Regions from separate parts of the Homo sapiens genome. Here all the other regions are linked to region 7. Evidence: promoter capture Hi-C in 16 types of primary human blood cells and fetal thymus (Javierre and others, 2016). All regions are on one chromosome and are shown on one strand. Each heading gives the region's core, a stretch centred on a gene start or on the middle of the fragment in contact. The rest is flanking DNA. Distances are from core to core; before and after follow the strand shown.

What was found. The method cuts DNA at HindIII sites, captures the fragments that hold promoters and counts their contacts. A CHiCAGO score of 5 or more calls a contact.
Region 1: a fragment that was not itself captured here is called in contact with the fragment with the promoter of MASP1 in region 7 in 7 of 17 cell types (M1 macrophages, activated CD4 T cells, total B cells and 4 more); the score reaches 6.5 in M1 macrophages.
Region 2: a fragment that was not itself captured here is called in contact with the fragment with the promoter of MASP1 in region 7 in 4 of 17 cell types (M0 macrophages, total B cells, naive B cells and 1 more); the score reaches 6.9 in M0 macrophages.
Region 3: a contact is called between a fragment that was not itself captured here and the fragment with the promoter of MASP1 in region 7, in 4 of 17 cell types (M2 macrophages, activated CD4 T cells, naive B cells and 1 more). The highest score is 7.1, in M2 macrophages.
Region 4: a contact is called between the fragment with the promoter of RTP2 here and the fragment with the promoter of MASP1 in region 7, in 15 of 17 cell types (M1 macrophages, naive B cells, M2 macrophages and 12 more). The highest score is 12.5, in M1 macrophages.
Region 5: a contact is called between a fragment that was not itself captured here and the fragment with the promoter of MASP1 in region 7, in 1 of 17 cell types (endothelial precursors). The highest score is 5.3, in endothelial precursors.
Region 6: a fragment that was not itself captured here is called in contact with the fragment with the promoter of MASP1 in region 7 in 1 of 17 cell types (activated CD4 T cells); the score reaches 5.0 in activated CD4 T cells.

Annotation. Positions count from the first base shown.
Region 1 is chr3:187,611,476-187,614,175 of GRCh38, reverse strand. No RefSeq gene overlaps it. Among named protein-coding and RNA genes, the nearest start is that of SST, 58 kb to the left of the region's middle. The HindIII fragment of the contact is 287 bases long and covers 1,128-1,414 here.
Region 2 is chr3:187,718,100-187,720,799 of GRCh38, reverse strand. The region is part of intron 2 of LOC100131635 (hCG1645011-like); the gene reads right to left. Among named protein-coding and RNA genes, the nearest start is that of RTP2, 17 kb to the right of the region's middle. The HindIII fragment of the contact is 2,223 bases long and covers 252-2,474 here.
Region 3 is chr3:187,651,298-187,653,997 of GRCh38, reverse strand. No RefSeq gene overlaps it. Among named protein-coding and RNA genes, the nearest start is that of SST, 18 kb to the left of the region's middle. The HindIII fragment of the contact is 4,522 bases long and covers 1-2,700 here.
Region 4 is chr3:187,701,220-187,703,919 of GRCh38, reverse strand. RTP2 (receptor transporter protein 2) reads left to right here and starts at 1,363. Exons shown (of 2, transcript NM_001004312.2): 1 at 1,363-1,955. The coding sequence starts at 1,792. LOC100131635 (hCG1645011-like) reads right to left here and starts at 1,554. Exons shown (of 3, transcript NR_034062.1): 1 at 1,381-1,554. The HindIII fragment of the contact is 5,389 bases long and covers 1-2,700 here.
Region 5 is chr3:187,631,967-187,634,666 of GRCh38, reverse strand. No RefSeq gene overlaps it. Among named protein-coding and RNA genes, the nearest start is that of SST, 37 kb to the left of the region's middle. The HindIII fragment of the contact is 573 bases long and covers 1,057-1,629 here.
Region 6 is chr3:187,591,092-187,593,840 of GRCh38, reverse strand. No RefSeq gene overlaps it. Among named protein-coding and RNA genes, the nearest start is that of SST, 78 kb to the left of the region's middle. The HindIII fragment of the contact is 718 bases long and covers 1,032-1,749 here.
Region 7 is chr3:187,290,300-187,292,999 of GRCh38, reverse strand. MASP1 (MBL associated serine protease 1) reads left to right here and starts at 1,263. Exons shown (of 11, transcript NM_139125.4): 1 at 1,263-1,372. The coding sequence starts at 1,368. LOC101929130 (a long non-coding RNA gene) reads right to left here and starts at 1,728. Exons shown (of 2, transcript NR_135551.1): 1 at 1,464-1,728. The HindIII fragment of the contact is 4,632 bases long and covers 1-2,700 here.

The DNA of each region.
Region 1 (2,700 bases), core at 22-2,521, 320 kb before region 7:
AATGTCTCAAGAGAGGATGGAGGAAAGTGGGAGGTTTTTGTTTTTTGTCTGTTTGTTTGTTTGTTTTTCCGAGAGGTGTCCAAGAGGGATCCAATGCCACGGGATATCCAATTACACTTCGACAAGGTTTATGACTGGATGTGAGGATGGTAAAAGGGTTCCATTATGATAGAATAAATCCAGTAAATAGTGTCTGTGTTTAGATCCCCAGGACACAGTGTTTGCCTTTGTTTAATGGTTTAACTTTTTACTTGTTTTCCCTTTCTTTTTTTTTTTTTTTTTTTTTTTGCCTTTTCGTAGCCAGAGGAAGAATTTGCAGCAGCCAGCACACCAGCGGCTCTGGTGTTGGCTTGGGAATGCATAAGTGAAACTGGTCCACCTTCAGCTATGCTCTCCTTCCTTTGGAGCCAGACCAGCCAACCTGGAATCAGCACTGAAATTATGCCCAGAGCCTCCTCCCTGCTGCTGCATGCCAGGCAGCCCCTGTCTTGCCTGGCCTAATGTACCTCTCTGGGAGACAGTGTGCACTGGCATTTCTGCCCAATGGGACATTACCTGCCTGGGCCTCCGGTAAAGAGCAAATCACTGTTAGAAAATTTGAAATGGTTGCAGAACTCAGGAGCAGATGGCCTTCTCTCTCCACTGGGAGGGAAGAGACGAACCCCAGAGGAGAAAGAGAAGTTTTCTCTTTCAGAATGGCAGAAAAATGTATCTTCATAGAAGCAGCCATAGATGACCATGGCAGGCAGTGCTCTTGGAGAAGGTCCATGGTAACTGCCTGTGATATAGAAGTGGACAAGGGAGGCCACAGCAGAAAGTGGCCCATACATACCCTGGTTCATGCCAGGCCAGAGCCCTGAGGGTGCTAACAGGGACCCTGAGCTTAGAGGTAGAAAACCTCAGTCCTAGCCTTCTGATTCCAGATTAAATAAGATAGTGATAATAAAAAGTAATAACAGCAAACATATAGAGCCTTTTTTATGCACTAGGCCCTGTTGTGAGTGCTTTTACATACATAAATTCTTTATTCTGTTTAGTCTTTGTAGCAACTTTATGAGGTAGAAACAATTGCAATCCCCATTTTAGAGAAGATCTATGAAAATAATGCCTGTAGAAGAATAAAAGCTTCTTTATATGAAGCACAGAGTGTTAGTTCTAGTAAACCTCCCAGGGCTTTTGTGGGGTTCAGATGGGATCACATCTGTGAAGCACTTTAAAGTGCTGTCCATACATGAGAGAGTCCCATTGCATCATGGTTTCTCCTGCATTTTCCTTGTCCATTTGTTGTGAGCAAATGGTAAATGGCATAAAGCCAATACTGCAAGAGAAATCAATGGAAGAGACCCAGCACCCCGTGAGTGATTGCAAAGGAAGGAAGATGGAGTAAGTGCCAGGAGGACAGCCCAAAGAAGCTTTAAAAAACACAAAAGCAAAAAACCCATAACCTTCTTTTCTGATTGAGAGTAGGGTGGAGGTCAGGAAAAAGCCTCTAGGGGAGATTGCTTCAAAATTAAACTTCAAAGGGTCAATAACTCTGTGCTGTTCTGCCTTCTTCCCAATAATGACCTACCACTGAATATCCTGTGAATTCTTTCTTTTTTATTTTGTGTTTTTGGTATTTTACAGCATTTTAAGAATGTGTTTGAAGCCCCAAATGAAAACAACTCTATCAGTCCTATTTGGTCATCACAAGCAGACTTAAGCTGCACAAACTTCCAGGGGCACCATTATCTGTTTATGAACAACAGGCAATCAGGCCAATGAACCATGTTATTGTCATTCCTCTCATGTCTCTCAAATCATTTTTCATCTTGACTAATCAGGAGATAAAGTTGATCCTTCTCCACTTTCCACCTCCATACTCATTTCAGTTCCCTGCAGTTTCACGCTGGGCTGGGCTGTTTGAAATCTAGTATAAAACACCCGAGAAGAGCTATAATTTTCAAATTTGCCCATGGGTAATGTGTGTAGTAAATGTAAAGTACTAGCAATTTGGTTGTTTGAGATGCAATGATTTTTTTTTTTTACATCAATGTGCAGGGTCTGAGGCAGGCACAAGTTTCCAGAGGCAATATATATCACTGCTGGCCAGACCCCTGGGAGTCCATGAGGGTCACCCAAACAAGAAAGGGAGGAGGCAAAGTGAGGAAACCAAGGGCCCCCTCAATGCTGATCCCTGTGGAAGTTTTAACACAAGACAGCACGAGGGGGTGCCTACAGGGGAACTACTGGCTGGTTACCTTGAGGGGTCCTAAAGGATGCCTTCCTTCCCTCAGAGGATTGACCATGGCCTGGTATCTGACCCCCAATCATGTAGGCTCAGGATTGATTTTATTACCGCCAGGAGTGTGTGCTCTTCCAGGGCAGACTCATACTAGCCAAACTCACAATGCTGATGCACAAAACTACAGCTTCTCAAGGAAGGACCATGGCCACAAGGCCCAGACCACATACATCAGTATGCCAGAGCTGTCTCTTCACAGAAGAAAGCCTCCCTGGGAAGCTAAACCTTAATCAGGAGGCTGCTCGCTGAGAATGAATTCATATCAAGAGGAATCTCACAAGGAAAATAGTGGCATCAGGCTGTCCATCCAGCAAAGGCCTAGGTCTGGACTCTAATGATTTTCCCTCCCCAAGACAATGCTTGCATGGACACTAATAGTTCTCCTCTCTGTGACATTCTTTAGTGATGCATTTCTG
Region 2 (2,700 bases), core at 114-2,613, 430 kb before region 7:
TTTAATGACTTCCCTCCTAGCTCTGCTGACACATAGATAGGCATCTCTTCTTCCTCTGAACCTCAGTTTGCCCAGTTTTGGAAGTGAGAAGGCCCATCTTGCTTTCTGGCTTCACGAACAATTTCTCTCTCCTCGGCTCATGGGGCAGTATGAAGGCATGTGGCCCCAGACATATATTTCTCAGCCTGAGTGCATCTGGGGCTTTTTGGTGTCTGCTGGGTGATTGGCAGACATCTGCAGACTCAGAAGCTTTATGAATGGTTAGTGGCCAAGCAAACCTCCATCCCTGCAGAGGTGCTCTGTCCCAAGAGCCCTGCGGCAGAACTCAGCCACCTCCTCCAGTGTGACTTGGGACAAGCACTTTCCCTCTGGGTCCCCTTTCCAACCTGTCCATGAGAGTGAACTACACCATTTATGATTCCCTGATTCAGATGTAAGTTCACCCTAGCTTGCTTTGCACCTAGTTTTATTTTACCTCAAAAAACGCCAAGGATCAAGTTTGACCTGAGAACAGTGAGGACAAGTGTGGTTCTGGTCACTGGCCCAGAGGAGAAGCCTGCACACCCCCCTTCCTGTTCCTGGGTGGCAGTGGGGAGAGCATGTGGAGTTGAGCCTGTCCCCAGGGCCATGGGCCCACTTGTTGGGCAGCCGTGTCCCTTGGCAGTGCCTTTGCAGCAGGCTCCGAGCACGTGCTGGGAAGCCATGGGAGCTGACCACCCAGCACCCCACAGAGAGCCTCAGAAAGGCACAGCACCCTCTGCCAGCTGCATGGCCTTTCAGCTCAGGTTTCCTTTGAAAATGACTTTAAAGGACTTGCCAGCTCGAGGCCTCAACTCACCCTGCTCTTTGAAAAGGGAGAAAATGATCCCTCTGCTCCCATAGAAACTTGGCAGGAGAACTTACAAAACAGACAGCTTCAGGAATGACAATTCACAGGCCTAAGGGAAGCTGGCCCCAGGGTCCCTTTGCTCCCAGAGTACCTCCAAGTTTGTTTGCATTTCATTACTGTTTAATAGAGAGATGGAGGGGCGAGGGCAGATAGTGTGGGTGGCCATTTAAACAAAAGGGAAGATCAAAGAGTGAGTAACTGCAGCCAATTGACAATCAATAATAACTAAAAAGAAAAGTCTCTAAGCAGATAAGCCAGGGCAAAGGGAATATAAAATGTTTACTAAAAAGCAAGATGTAAATGCAGCTTTTCACCCATACATGGAACATGCGTGGTGTTCTACATTGTGGGATTTTTAGAGGATAGGTTTCTGAGGATCAGTGTGATGAGGATGTGTAAGGGGTAATCCCAGAGAAGCGGGGTGGTTAGAATTATGCAGAGCTATTTAGTAGTTGGAAGGGAAGGGGTGGTTAGAATTATGCAGAGCTATTTAGTAGTTGGAAGGGATGGGGTGGTAAGATCACCTAGCTCAAATCTTGCACCTGACCCATGAAAGGATTGAGGCAGGAGGGCTGAAGGCACTTTCCTACTGCCGCCCAGAGCCTGGGGTGGAGAGTGGAGAACAGGCTCCTGCTCTTTACACAACCCTAAGGGAAGGAAAACCAGAGGCAAATGTTCCATTTTAATTTTTAATATTTATTTATTTATTTATTTATTATTTTATTTTTCTTAGAGATGGAGTCTTGCTCTGTCACTCAGGCTGGGGTGCGGCAATGGCACCATCATAGCTCACTTGAACTCCTGAGCTCAAGCAATCCTCTTGCCTCAGCCTCCAGAGTAGCTGGGACTACAGGGGCCACCACCATGCCTGGTTACAAATGTTCCGTTTTAGACATGGGGAAATGGAAGGAGGAACTAGTCCAAGGTCCCGCAGCTAAAGGTGTCCGGGTAGGCTGAGTTCGCACAGTGGTTGTCATTAGAACTTTAATCAGTTCAATTCAATTGTTAGGCCTCAGGCTTCTTGGAGAAATGAGCTATTCCCTTTGAAATCTGGGTTTCCATTTTCTCTCTCTGTCTCACTCATAGTAATAATTAATAATAAGGCTGGTCACGGTGGCTCACCCCTGTAATCCCAGCACTTTGGGAGGCCGAGGCAGATGGATGACTTGAGGTCAGGAGTTCGAGACCAGCCTGGCCAACATGGCGAAACCCCGTCTCTACTAAAAATACAAAAATTAGTCAGGCGTGGTAGCGCATGCCTGTAATCCCAGCTACTAGGGAGGCTGAGGCAGGAGAATTGCTTGAACCCAGGGGGTGGAGGTTACAATGAGCCAAGATCGTGCCACTGCACTCTAGCCTGGGCAACAGAGTGAGACTCTGTTTCAAAAAAAAAATTAATAATAATAATAAGTTGTCCTGTGTTCTATCAGAGACATGCATTGGTAAGCACTAAGAGAATTAGAATGAGGAATAGGAGCAGAGAAAAGCTGACCCCTGAAGAGTAGCTGGGCCACATTAACGGCAAAGCTCCAGAATGAGGTCTGCAGAACTAGGGTGACCTTTCAGGATCTAGTTCTATGAAGCTTATAATTGTGTGGGGGTTTCTAGTCTTAGATTTCTAGGATAATCCATCCCTCTTATAACCACTGTATAATGGGGTCACTGCCTTCATTTCTACACCACTGCCGTTACTTGGACTGGCCTGTATGAGTCTATTTCCTGGAACCAAAGGAGCATAATTTACACACAGATAGCCATGCTTCTGGGGAGTCTGCCATTAGAAGGACCCTTACGCTTCACAGATAGCCATG
Region 3 (2,700 bases), core at 1-2,500, 360 kb before region 7:
TAAACAAAATCTTCTTTGTATATATTTAATTTAATTACAAGGAATATTGAGTGCCAATGCACTGACTTGGTGCTGTGGATATTCAGAGACATAGCCCTTGACCTTGACAAGTCCCATCTGGAGTGGAGACTGATGTGTTCATGGCTGAGTGTAGGAAGTCCTACATGTGAAGTGCAAAACAATTGCTATGGGGACACAGCCAAAAGAAAAGACTTATTCCCATTCAGGGAAATCAGAGGAACTGGGCTTTCGATAGAGGGAAGAGGGCAGAGCCATGTGAACATTTTTCCAAGTCAAACAGGTAGCAAAACAGGTAGGAAAACACAGGCTGTGTTTCCAGAATGACGAGAGTCAGTTCCAAGGTGTGTCACTGTCATCTAGATTCTCTGTTGGACCTTGAAGGACAATTTAGGCAGCTGTTTGTTTATCCGTTTTGGGGGTGGTTGATGCAGGGAAACAAGTCTTTCCCTGGAACAAGTGGAGGATGTATGAGTTCTCTTTTGAGACTGCTTGTGAGCATTTTCCAATTTCTTTGAGAGACTAAAAAGCATTAGCAGAGGTCAAGGAAAGGACATTATTGTTATACTCTGTAACACTAGAAGAAAAACACAACGTTGAAGTAGGCTGTCAAGATATTTCTCAACAACTCAACCTAAAAGTGGCTTCAAATAAAAGAGCCAACTGGAGCCTGATCCATTAGCATGGAGCCCTTTATTTCCCTAAATGAGAGCTGTGTCAGTATCCTTGTGTTTGTCTTAATTTTTACAGAAAGCTACTCACTTGGTCATACCTATGATAAGTTTAAAATTCAGGAAAAAGCATTAATCAGAATTTTAGAACCGTGGGGATGATCTATTGGATGTGTAAGACCTTTATTTTATACAAGACGCTTAGATAATGTTTGTTTTATATATTTTTCACAAGTATCAATTCACTCACTCAAGTTCTCAAGATAAATGTCCTAAGTATTTGCTATGTGTGAGGATCTCTCCTAGCATTGATGATACAAATATGCCTATGGCCTCTCTCAAGGAGCTCATGTTCTTACAGGAAAAAACTGTCCTATAAAACAAAGTTCCGACTAAGTGTGATAGCAAGTATAGTGGCAGCTCATAAGGCGGAGTAAATGAAACTGTCCGTGGGAGAGGGAGTATTGGAGAGCTTTGCAGAGGAGGCAATGCTTGCACTGGTTCCTGAGGATACATGGAAATTTATAAGATGAAAATAGTTGCAGGATGATTCAGTCAGAGGAAAATGAGAGGGAAAACGACTAAGTATGAGATGTGTTGATGAGTGGCTTAGAATCATTTGGTGGCAGGTAAAGAGACTCATTTCATACTTATTTAAACAAAAAGGGAATGCTGGATAGAAAATCATGACATCCCACAGATCCTGAGGGCCCAGAGCTGCCAAGCCAAATGAGGGGGTTGAACCAAGAACTGAAAAGGAATCCAATGAACCATAGATATCTAATTTATAGCTCTGAGTCTAAATTCCAAATTCTTGATAGAGAATAACTACCTGGCCCAACCTGGCTCGAGAATCTGTTCCAGTCGTACCATAATGATCAGAGTGGGAAGATCGTAGGGTACAAACATAGTTTCCCAGGCTCTCTGCTATGGATGAAAACTTTAAAGATGGGGCCTTGAAGGCTGCAGAGACACTCTAAAAGATGTCTGCTAATTGACTGCAAGCTGTTGGGAGACCTCAAATAAGAATTGGGAATTTTTGTAGTGCTAAAGTGCAGTGGAGTTGAGGGCGGGGGGTGGGGGCAGGTATGTCAATAGAGACAGATGAGATTGCAGGACTGGCATAGAGCACATTGTGCAAGATTCTCAATTTTTTTTTTTTTAAGATAATCAGGGACTTTAAAAAGTCTGGGCATAAAACAATCAGAATTGTGATTTGGGTGGTTAAGTATAATAGTGGTGTGGAAATGAACTGGAAAAGGACAACCTGAAAGAAGAGAAGACAGGTTAGAGGTTGCTGAAGTAGTCCATGTAAGAGGCTAGAGCCTTAACTAGATAATGAGAATGGATAAAATGAGATAAAATAGGAAGAAATTTAGGAGAAATAAATAACAGAATATTATGAACTATTCAATGTGTCTGAGGATTGAGGAGAGAAATAACATGATTGTCACTTTTCTGATATAAGCAGCAGAGCAGAAGGTGGTGCCATCCCCAAGGCAAGGACCAGAAGAGGACAAGGTTTAGGGGGAGCATAGTGGGTCTGCAGTGGGCATGGGGAGTTAAAGTGCTGGGGACCACCCAAGAGGAACTGGTGAGTGAGAAGATGGATATTCCCTCAGGAGTGAGGTTGGGGGCTACAGATGAGATCTGGGAATCATCAGCTGATGCTTGGCAGTGTAAGCCCAGGGGTGATATTGTCCAGAAAAAGCATGTAAAGTCAGAAGAGAAGCAGAAAAAGGAGAGAGTCCTGAAATGAGTCCACAGTAAGAGGTAAAAGGAAGAAAACCGTCTCACAAAGGAGACCAAAAAGAATAACCACAGAGCTGAGTAAACCAGAAAAGAAGGGTATCCTGGAAGCCAAAAATGGAGAATTTCAAAAGACTGGGAAGTCGTTTATCAGCACTTTGCACTGTTATATCTGTTTCATGGACAGTAAACTGAAACTTGGAGACTTAAAATGACAGAGTTGATTAGTGTCAAAGGCAAGACTAGAATGGAGATGTCTCAA
Region 4 (2,700 bases), core at 114-2,613, 410 kb before region 7:
AGAAGCTGCTATGCTAAATTAAACCTGATACTAGGCCTAAGGGGATTGCATTATTTGAGGAAAAAAGAAAATACAGGTAAACCCTGACAATTCTCATCCTCTTTCTGTTTTTCCTTTATTGCCATTTGTTCTGGGAACAAGGGTATACTATTTCTCAGAGGTTCTTTCCTGGCACGAGGGTCTAGGCCAGGCCATAAGCTCATCTCAGCTTCGTTCAGTTCCTGGCCATTCATGGATCCCTCTGTCTCACCTGGTCTGGTAACTGGCTTCTAAGGGAATCCCCAGTGAGGTTTGAGCTACCCAGTCCTGAGAGCCTGGGCCAGTAATTTTCCATTTCCAGGCCTCAGTTGTTTTAATTCAATGTCAATAAATTTTGGTTAAGAAATGAAGAGTTCAAGAAATAAACCAGATTTTTAAAAATAAAAGAGCTCTTCTAGAGCTGTCAGTCAATGGTTCAAAGACAATTGTGTCCTTTCTGAGGTCTTTAGCACAAAGCCGCTAGAGTAACACTTTTCATTTCAAGAGAGAATCCAGTGACATTGTCCCTGACTTCACACTTCCTGAAAACCACTTGGCAACTCAACACCAAGAGCTTCCGGTTCTTAGCAACCTGTTTCACTTCTTGAAGCTCTTTACTGTTGGAACTCTGCGTGTCTAGGGATCCAGACTTCCGGGTTAAAGAATCGTAAGATGATTACAGTTGGAAGTTGGACCAAAGCTAGGGTAAGCAGCCATATGCCTGGTCTTTTCCATGCTCAAGGCAGCCTCCCTTCAGGTAACCGTGTCTTCACTTGGATTACCAAATTTGAAGTCAGATTCCCCTCTGGTTTCTAAAGAATTTGAATTGGGCATCACAGAGCTACGGATGCTCTCTTGCTCCAGCTCAGCAGTAATGGAGGCAGCAGGAGCCTGCAGCACAGAACAAACTCATTACCCCAGCAGCCACCTTAGCCTGGCTTGGGACCAGGAACTGAATATGGGCTCTAACAGTTCTATGACGCTATGAATCTGAAATGTTATTACTGTGCTTTGCATGGCATATGAAATTACATTCTAGCTCACCAACTGGTCTAAGATTGCCCTGGGCAAAGAGATGTTACTTCTCACTCAATTCCCTGTTAGGAGCACAATAGTACTAAAATAAATAAACAAATGAGCTCGGTTTCAGAAGGCCTAGATCTGAATCTTGGATGAGCCACTTAGGGGTTGCATAAACTTCAGTTTCCTGATCTGATCTGCTTTGGCCAGCACACAGGTCAAGCGGTTTGTGCTAGGCACATGGTAAGTGATGGTCACAGCATATCAGGGGGTGTGGAAGCAGCAGGCTCTGCCTTTCCCTGTCCCTCATTTCTCCTTGACTTCCTAGGGTGTCGTACTTACCATAGCACATGATGTGGAGAATGCTAGAAGAGCAGTTGGGTGAAGCAGGGCCACCAAATAGTCCTTGCCTCCTGGAGACCTCTGGAAATCCAGATGAGTGTGGTCTGAGGTTGGGCCTCCCACTGTGCTTGCTCCTCTCAGGCCTACCCAGCGCTGCCTCTGAAGCCTAACTCAGGGCCCTGAAACTCCCCCTTGGGGCTTCCCTTCTCCCCAGCCCTCACTCTTGGTGCCCTGCCTGGCTACCATGGTAACAGGTTCCAGGGTAACAGAGGAGGGAGCTGGGTCCTGTTTACTCCCAGTCCTGCCGATGAGGATTCTGACCGTAGACACTGAATTGTCCCGTACCTATCCGTGCTCTTTCTGTGTTCTCACCAGGGCTGAGCTCGAACTGCCACCTCTGCCAGCAGGACCATGTGTACCAGCTTGACCACTTGTGAGTGGAAGAAAGTCTTCTATGAGAAGATGGAGGTGGCAAAGCCAGCGGACAGCTGGGAGCTCATCATAGACCCCAACCTCAAGCCCAGTGAGCTGGCCCCTGGCTGGAAGCAGTACCTGGAGCAGCACGCCTCAGGCAGGTGAGAGGTTCAGTGGGGAGGGACCTTGCAGACAGCCCCTGGGTCACAGCTGTGGGGTACTTTCCAAGGAGAGACAGAGCCCAGTCGCGGGCTTATTCTGGTGTCAGCTCAGATGGGGAAAAAGACAAAGACAGCCGGCTGGGTCAGAGAGTTCTTGCTTTTAATCCTAGCAATACCACTAACTCCCTGGGTGACCCTGAGAAAGTTATGTTCCATCTTTGGGTCTTAGTTGTCCACATTAAATGAAGAGCTGTAATATCATCTATGTCCCTGCAATCTCTGACATTTAGAGTGAGTTGGAACTGAAGGAAGGAGGCCATGAGGTCCATTGGGGAAAGTTTTAATCTAGGAGTTGGGGGAATGCAGGGGGTACAGCTATGCTCTGTTCCTAGATATGTTTAGTGAATTAATCCAATTTGATCTGAATACATAAACATTTATTGACCACCTGCTGTGTGCTACGAACTGGCTCTATATAGCTAAGTAGCCTTGTAAACTTGGCAAGTCTGTTTCCCTTTCTGGCTCTCAGTTTTTATATTTACAAAATGAGGGGGTTGGTCTTAGATAATAGATCCAATCCACTCTAGCTCTATTATCTATGCACCTGTGATAAAAAGATTTAGCTTTGAGCAAAACTTTCTTTAGGAACTTAGAGCCCAGGGTCCCACTCTTTATAGGAGCTGCACATCTACCACAGGGCAAAGAGTCCTTGAGGCCAAGGGGACGAGGCCGTCTAAAGTCCACA
Region 5 (2,700 bases), core at 94-2,593, 340 kb before region 7:
GTGCAAGAGTTGAGGCTTGGGAGCCTCTACCTAGATTTCAGAGAATACGGAATAGCCTGGATGTCCAAGAGGAGGCCTGCTGCAGCGGTGGAGCCTTTATGGAGGACCTCTACCAGGGTAGTGCAGAGGGGAAATGTGAGGTTGAAGCCCCCACACAGAGTCCCCACTGGTGCACTGCCTAGTGGAGCGGTGAGAAGGGGATCACCATCCTGTAGACCCTGGAATGAGAGATCTACCAGTAGCTTGCATCCTGTACCTGGAAAAGTCACAGGCACTCAATTCCCCAATTAAAATGGCGACTTCAGTGATCTCAAATACTATTGCTTGCACTTTGGTTATTTCAAATAACCTGTTATTTGAGAGCAGCTGCAGGTACTGAACCCTGAAAAGCTGCACGGGTGGAGCTGCCCAAGGCCTTGGGAGCCCATCCCTTGCATCAGTGTGCCCCAGATGTGGGATATGGAGTCAAAGGAGATTACTTTGGAGCTTTAAGATTTAATAACTTCTCTGCTGAGTTTTGGACTTGTGTGGGGCCTGTAACCCCTTTCTTTTGACTAATTTCTCCCTTTTGGAATGGCAGTATTTACCCAATACCTGTATCCCCTTTTTATTTTGTGATTAACTAACTTGTTTTATGGGCTCATAGGCAGAAGGGACTTGCCTTGCCTTAGATGAGACTTTGGATTTTGGACTTTTGAGTTAATGCTGGAATGAATTAAGGTTTTGGGGACTGTTGGGAAGGCATAATTATATTTTGAAATGTGAGAAGGACATGAGATTCAGGAGGGGCCAAGGGCAGAATAATATGGTCTGGATCAGTGTTCCCACCCAAATCTCATGTCGAATTGTAACCCCCAATGCTGAAGGTGGGGTCTGGTGGGAGGTGACTGGATCATGGGGGTGAATTTCCCCCTTTGGTGCTGTTCTCATGATAGAGTTTTCATGAGATCTGATTGTCTAAAAGTGTGTGGCGCCTCTACCCTCTCTCTGTCTTTCTCCTGCTCTGGCCATGTGAAGTGTTGGCTCCCCCTTTGCCTTCTGCCATGATTGGAAGCTTCCTCAGGCCTCCCCAGAAACAGAAGCTAATTCGCATCCTGTACAGCCTTTGGAACTCTTAAGTAATGAAACTTCTTTCTTTATAAATTATCTAGTCTCAGATATTTCTTTATAGCAATGTGAGAATGGACTAATATAGGGAAGGAAAGTATAAAAGAATGAGGAAGTAAATAAAGGAAAAGTGGAGAGAAACAGTAGGATTCCCTCTCCATTCTTTATCAGAATCAGATGATAATTACAGCTTCACTTGAAGTTAATTTCATTAAATTGTGAAATTGAACAGTTTGCAGACACTCACATAACATTTATATCAGTAGTTCTCAAACATTAATAAGTGAAGAAGTCCCTTTTAGCCCAGGAATCTGTACTTTAAACAAACTCTCCAGATAACCCTGGAGCGAGTGGTCCTTGAACCACCCTTTGAGAAAGAAACACTGTATTCCCTTAGTGTCTCATTTTTTATTCATTCAGCCAATGAGTGTTTATCAAGGCCTATTATGTGTCTGGCACTGTGTTGGAATATGAAGAAACAGTGATGAATAGGTTGGGTAAAATCTCCACTTCTGTGAAGCTTGTACCTGAGTGGGGAATCCATGCAAAGGCATTCTGAAATAAATAGAACAGGCAAAAGTCTATTTTACTAATCAGGAAACTGTGATTCAAAGAGGGACTCTTCTGGCTCCAATTCAAAGCCTTTCTGAATAAACAAACAAAACAACTTACAAATATATAAGCATAAAATATACTTTAAGAACCTACTTTCTTTGTTCCCATTCCAACCATTTTCCTTTGAAAGAAAGGGAATGAATGGGCACAGGGCTTTTAATTGTTGCTCACAAAAAGTGCCATGACTGTGATTTTCATCATGGTGCTGCCCCTCAGGTCGATGGTTCAGAAATACAGGAGCATGAGTAATCTTCCTTCATTTGGTTACTTCGTGATTACAGGCATTCTGGCTCTGATGCCCTGGTCTCCCACTTGCTAGCTATGTGATCTTGAACAAGTTACATAACCTCCCTGATATTATGAACCCAAAAATATCCGAGGCCGGTCTCAATTAACTTAGAAAGTTGTTTTGCTAAGGTTAAGGACATGCCCTTGACACTGCCTCAGGAGGTCCTGATGACCTGTGTCCAAGGTGGTTTGGTCACAGCTTGGTTTTATACAGTTTAGGAGACATGAGGCATCAGTCAATACGTGTAAGACATACATTGGTTTGGCCCAGAAAGTCAAGACAACTTGAAGTGGGGGCTTCTAGTAGGTAGATAAGAGACAAAAAGTTGCATTCTTTTGGGTCTTTTACAGCCTTTCATTGAAGACACAACTCACATGTGAGTGGGGGTAGAGGAACTTATGCCTTAGTCTGACTCAGTGAATCTGCATTTTTACATAAGCAGTAGGGCAGAAGAAGCAATTGGATATGCATTTGTCTCAGGTGAGCAGAGGAATGACCTTGATTCTGTGTGTCCTTTGTACTCCATCTGTGAAGATAAGCTATCAATTTACATAGCCAAGGTGAAATTCAACAGAATTGGTTTAAGGTGAAGGTCTTGAGGCCCACAAGAAATCGCCTGTTGGCAAATTGTGAGGGAGATATGTAGCTTTTAAAGCAATCTTTGTAACTATCTTATCTTGGAACTAAAA
Region 6 (2,749 bases), core at 141-2,640, 300 kb before region 7:
CAAAAGAAAGCTCGCGGAGCACTTACTAGCTGTGTTCAAATTCCTGGAGGACCATGGAGTGAAGATGAGATTAGACTCGCATCATGCACCTTCAAGAGGCTGCATAACCAACAGATGAAAATTATAGAGAACAACATTTTAGCTGACAATCAGAATGATTTTCTAACAGCTGAGCTCTCTGAAGATGACATGAGCTGCCATTACATGAGCTCAGTTCTGAGAGGCAGTGTGAACTGTCCTTGGCAGAGGAGTTGTGGTTGAGTTATTGAGACAGCCAAGTGTAAAGGGATCCCTGGAGAACCTCTGACCTGCCTGCACACTGGGAGGACTGTGCATTTGGGTGGAGCCTCGGGAAGCTCATGCCGGTTGCAGTAGGCAGGAGCCTGGCCCCTCCTCTTCCTGGGTGGAAGCTGGGATTCAATCTGATGTGAGAGCATGTTTACAGGAACCTATCTCGTGTTGCTGAGTTTTTTTCCTTTTCGCCCAATAAATTCCATTTTTCTCACCCTTCAAAGAGTCTGCGAGCCTAATATTTCATGGTCATGTGGCAAGGACCCAATTTTTAGCTAAACTAAGGAGAAAGTCTTACAACATTATGATGGAAATTAAGCTGGAGCCATCAGAAAGTCTGTCCAGCACAGAGAATGATGGTATTCCTTCGTTTAAGAGTTCAAAATCTCTGCAGCTCAAAAATCACCTATCTAGCATAACTAAACACACACACACACGTTATTTTATCTTCCTGATTACAATCATGACAACCTAAATTGATTGAGCATTTACTATATGCCACAGAAGTTTAGCTCCTCATATGCTTTATTAAATTTAATCCTTCTCACTGTCCTATTGAAAGTTTATATTATTATGTATTTCATAGATAATTATGAATATTATAAATTAAGTAACCAATAATATTCAGATATTACTAAACATCATAGGCATGTAGTGAGGGAGCCAGGATTTCAATCCAAGTGTGTTTAATACCGGGATCCTAAATACTCTGCTTTTCTGCCTCTTTTCTTCATGAAGCTTAGTACATTGGAAATGCCAAAAATAACCTGGTTTGCGCCCAGAATAACTCAATGAGAATTGGAGGGGTGCTGAAGATAAACTAAAATAATATTATGATTTCTCTGTCATGAATAAGAGACAGCTATGCTCCATTTTGCCCAAGGAAGTAAAATTATCTTATTAATGAGAGAAGCAGAAATTCACAGCCCCAGAGGAGGAAACCTTCCCAGTTTTTGTGGTTCTCCATCAGTTTTAGATGGAGGGGGCTTCTAGATGTCAACCTAATTTATGGCTGCGTCCTTGAAGTTCTTGTGCAGGAGTTGAGGTTGGGGAAGAGAGTAGGGAAAAGAGGGTCAAGTCTGCTCTCCCGAGGAAGAACTTGTTTAACTTCAGAACCTTTGGGAGTTTGAATAATTAAAGGTGTGTGTGTGAGTGTGTTGTTTCCTGTGGAAGATTTTCTGGCCATGACTTCCGGTCATCACAGCTGCTTTAGCACATGCTCAAGGAGGAGTCACTTCAAGTCTGATTCAATTTTAAAATACTAAAAGAGAAAAGAGAAAACAGAAAAGCTCTCCTGCAACTCCTCAAGACAATAAGAAAAACAAACACAGAATTCCCTATGTCAGAAAAGGAGCTCTAGAGGCTCTTTTATCAGTTTGATGTTTGCAGCCACCCTGAGATGATGTTGCAAACTTTGGATTTTTCAAACAATTGATGATTTGCATTCCAAGAGAAGCTTTTCATTTTCTCTACTTTTCTAAAGGTCATGTTATACAAGGGATTCTTGAAGCTGCTTGAGTCATTTGATTCCACAGAGACTCAGGAGCACTGTGGAAATAGCCTCAACTAAGGAATCTGGATATCTTCAAAAGTTTTCAAAGCAGGGCCCTGGAAAGCATGAGAGTTTTAAATGTTGCCTTAAAACTAGTCTGGATTTCCCTTAAAAATACTGGAAAATATTGAAAAATATTTCCTCCTAGCACTTTGGAAGGCCAAGGCAGGAGGATCACGTGAGCCCAATAGTTCAAGACCAGCCTGGCAACATAGTGAGATCCTATCTCTATTAAAAACAATTTTGAATTGATTACAGACATGCCCTTGTCCCAAGGACAAAGGAGCACAGGAGAGGCATCCACAGCAAGAGATGCCAACATATTTTGAAAAGTCTGAAAGTGGGGTAAAGACCATGCCAACACAAGGACCCCAAAAGTGGGGTGCTATGAGAAGTGAGCTGATGTGACCCACAGAACCCTTACGAATCTCAGCTGTGGCAGAAAGAGCAGGGAGAGGGTGCTGGGAGCAAAAGCAGGGAGATTAGCTGGAAGCCTGAAAAAGAATCGTGAGCACTCCGGTTCCCTTTCTTACTACAGACTACTAGGGAGTTAGCCGTGCCTCACAACACTGGAGACCTGAGGCTTGCTCTCTTGGAAAACAGAATCATTTCATTCCTGAGTTGGGGCACCACACATAGTGCAAGGCTGATGTCTAATATATGGCCTAAAACACGGGGAAGGGGAAGGGAAAGATTTGCATACTGAACCAAGGAAGTCTCATTTCACTTTCTAACCGCATCCCACCCGCCCCCTGCCCCTCCCCCTGGGCCTTGGTAGCTGGAGCTCTGGCCACAGGGCAGAATGTGTTTTTCTATGGGGAAACCAAAGGAATTCATTTAAAAAGACTTGTAGATTTTATATAAAGTGCCAAACAAAAGCTAACCAGATGCCTGAGAACTCCACAG
Region 7 (2,700 bases), core at 14-2,513:
TTAACCTCTCTGGGCAATTTCCTCTGAAAAATGAGAATATTGCCAGCCATGTATACAACATATAAAGATGACTGAAAAGAATTCATATATTAAGTGCTTAGAGCAGTGCCTGACACGTAGCACTCAATAGCTGTTAGCTTCTAGTGCTAGTGGCAGTGGGGAGTCATAAATAACTGGATGATCTTGGCAAGTGGCATATTCTCTCTGAGCCTTAGTGTCCTCACTTGTAAAATGAGTATAACAGCAGCACTTTCACCAGTTTGCAAAAGTAACTTGAGATGATGTTAATGACTAGTACTGTGTCTAACACAGAAAAGGTGCACAGTCAAACTTAACTTTTACACCCAGATACACCTCTCCCTATTCAGTGTTGGTTGTTGTTGTTGTGGAGGGGGTAATTTTCTTATTATTCAGCTCATCTTAGATCTAGTGTTGATTTCTCCGGAAGCCATGGGTATAGACATATATACAGGCCCAGGTCTTTCTACACCCCTGGGGAGGTGAGATTTCTTGCTGCGATGGGCCCTTTCTGGGCTGGAGTAGAGCCGCACACACTCCGAGCAAGTAAACAGTGCCACAGGTATTGCTCATGGGGAGGAACAACCAGCCAACTTCAGGACTTGGTGCTTCCCCAGTTCCGGGCCCGTGGCTCTGTTCACAGGAAAACCTGTCGTTGTGTGTGACTCTGATCACGAGAAAACCTGTAGTTATTTGGGGCTCTGCTCACAAGGAAACCTGTAGTTATTTGCAGACAGACGCTCTGGGATTTAGACCTTTTTTTTTTCTTCTAGTGTAGGTGCTAGAATTGCCTTCTTAGTTGGTTGTTTCTATTTAATTGCTTTTCTTTCATGGGTGTCCTGAAGAAAAGCAGAAAATTATAGTCATCTGGCAAAAAAGACTAAAGAGAAATTAGACTTTGTCCCCTTTCACTCTCTCTCTCTCTCTCTCTCTACACACACACACACACACACACACACACACACAGAGTGATACAAATACCTGCTTGAGCCCCTCAGTTATTTTCTCTCAAGGGCTGAAGTCAGCCACACAGGATAAAGGAGGGAAGGGAAGGAGCAGATCTTTTCGGTAGGAAGACAGATTTTGTTGTCAGGTTCCTGGGAGTGCAAGAGCAAGTCAAAGGAGAGAGAGAGGAGAGAGGAAAAGCCAGAGGGAGAGAGGGGGAGAGGGGATCTGTTGCAGGCAGGGGAAGGCGTGACCTGAATGGAGAATGCCAGCCAATTCCAGAGACACACAGGGACCTCAGAACAAAGATAAGGCATCACGGACACCACACCGGGCACGAGCTCACAGGCAAGTCAAGCTGGGAGGACCAAGGCCGGGCAGCCGGGAGCACCCAAGGCAGGAAAATGAGGTACGTGCCAGGGGAGGAGAGGGCACGGTTCCCTTTTGGGGACCAGTGTCAAATAGCAGGGAAGGTCTGACCTTGTCACTGACAGACTCACCTGCGTGTCCTGCATGTGGTAGTGAGGGGCTTTCTCATCAATTCTTAGGGCTCTGAGAAGGGAGCTGTGGGTGGGCTGGGTGCCTTCCCCAGGACTCCAGGAGACATAAAACTTGAAACGGGAGACTTCGTGCAAATCCTGCTCCGGACGCTGCTGAAGCTCAGATTTCTCCCACTGCCTGCACAGGGTGCTGCCTGCTGGCGAATGTGACTCTCCTCCTGTTCACCCACAAGGCTGATTTTTCCGTGTTCCTCCTCTGGAAAGAGCATTGCTTTCTCTCTTCCAGCACTTTGTGAGTTAGATATGTGTTTGTGTGTTCATTCCTTCTGACCAGAAAAGAAACCAGCTTCCCATAGCTTGGCTCTGTGGTTTCTTCAACCTTTACAAGTTTGCCAGTTAAACCTCAATTTAGAAAACTAAAAATCTGTCCCCATTTTACAGTTCCCTATAAATTTTCTGCATTTCTCATTGAAATCAGAGGCAGCTGGTGGCATGAATCAGGCTATGAAGTACACCAAATGGCTCTTAAAGAGATATCATACTTAAAAAAAAAAAAAGGATTTTAGAGTTCTGAAATCAAGAACTTCAAATTCTAATTGGTTTTAAACTCTTTAACCTTTCTTATTCCTCATTATACTTGACACTCCTTACCAGACCTTTCATACAAGTTCTATCCTGCAAGTCTGAAAACCCAACCACCCTAGTTATTTTTATTAGTTAAGTGTTAATGCTGTTACACACACACACACACACACACACACACACAATGCTCTGCAGATGTGTAAGTCCCTAAACACATCTTTTACTATTAATTTTCTTTTCACTTGGGAAAGTGTTTTTATTTGTTTCTCTTCTGCAAAGTAACCTAGCAACTTTTCTGGACCTGAGACCAATGAGAGGCTTCAGACTATGTTAACTCTTTGAACTCCGATTACCTGTGGTTCAGAGAGATAACCAGGTCCTTAAAAAGTGAGTGCAATAATTCTGTTCTTCTTAAAGCCATAGTAATTTTAAACCTGCCATTAAACATCATTTTTCTTTCTCCAAAAAAAAGTGATTTATGTCAATCTACATTGAATGATAATCTCATTTATCTGTCAATGATCTGGTCTGAATCCCACCCTACCATTCAGTGCCCCAGCCCATATCAAACTACTTGGCTGAGTAACAATTCTGTATCTTTGCATATGCTCATCCCTCAACCTGGAGCAACCTTCTTCTTTATTTTCCACCTAGA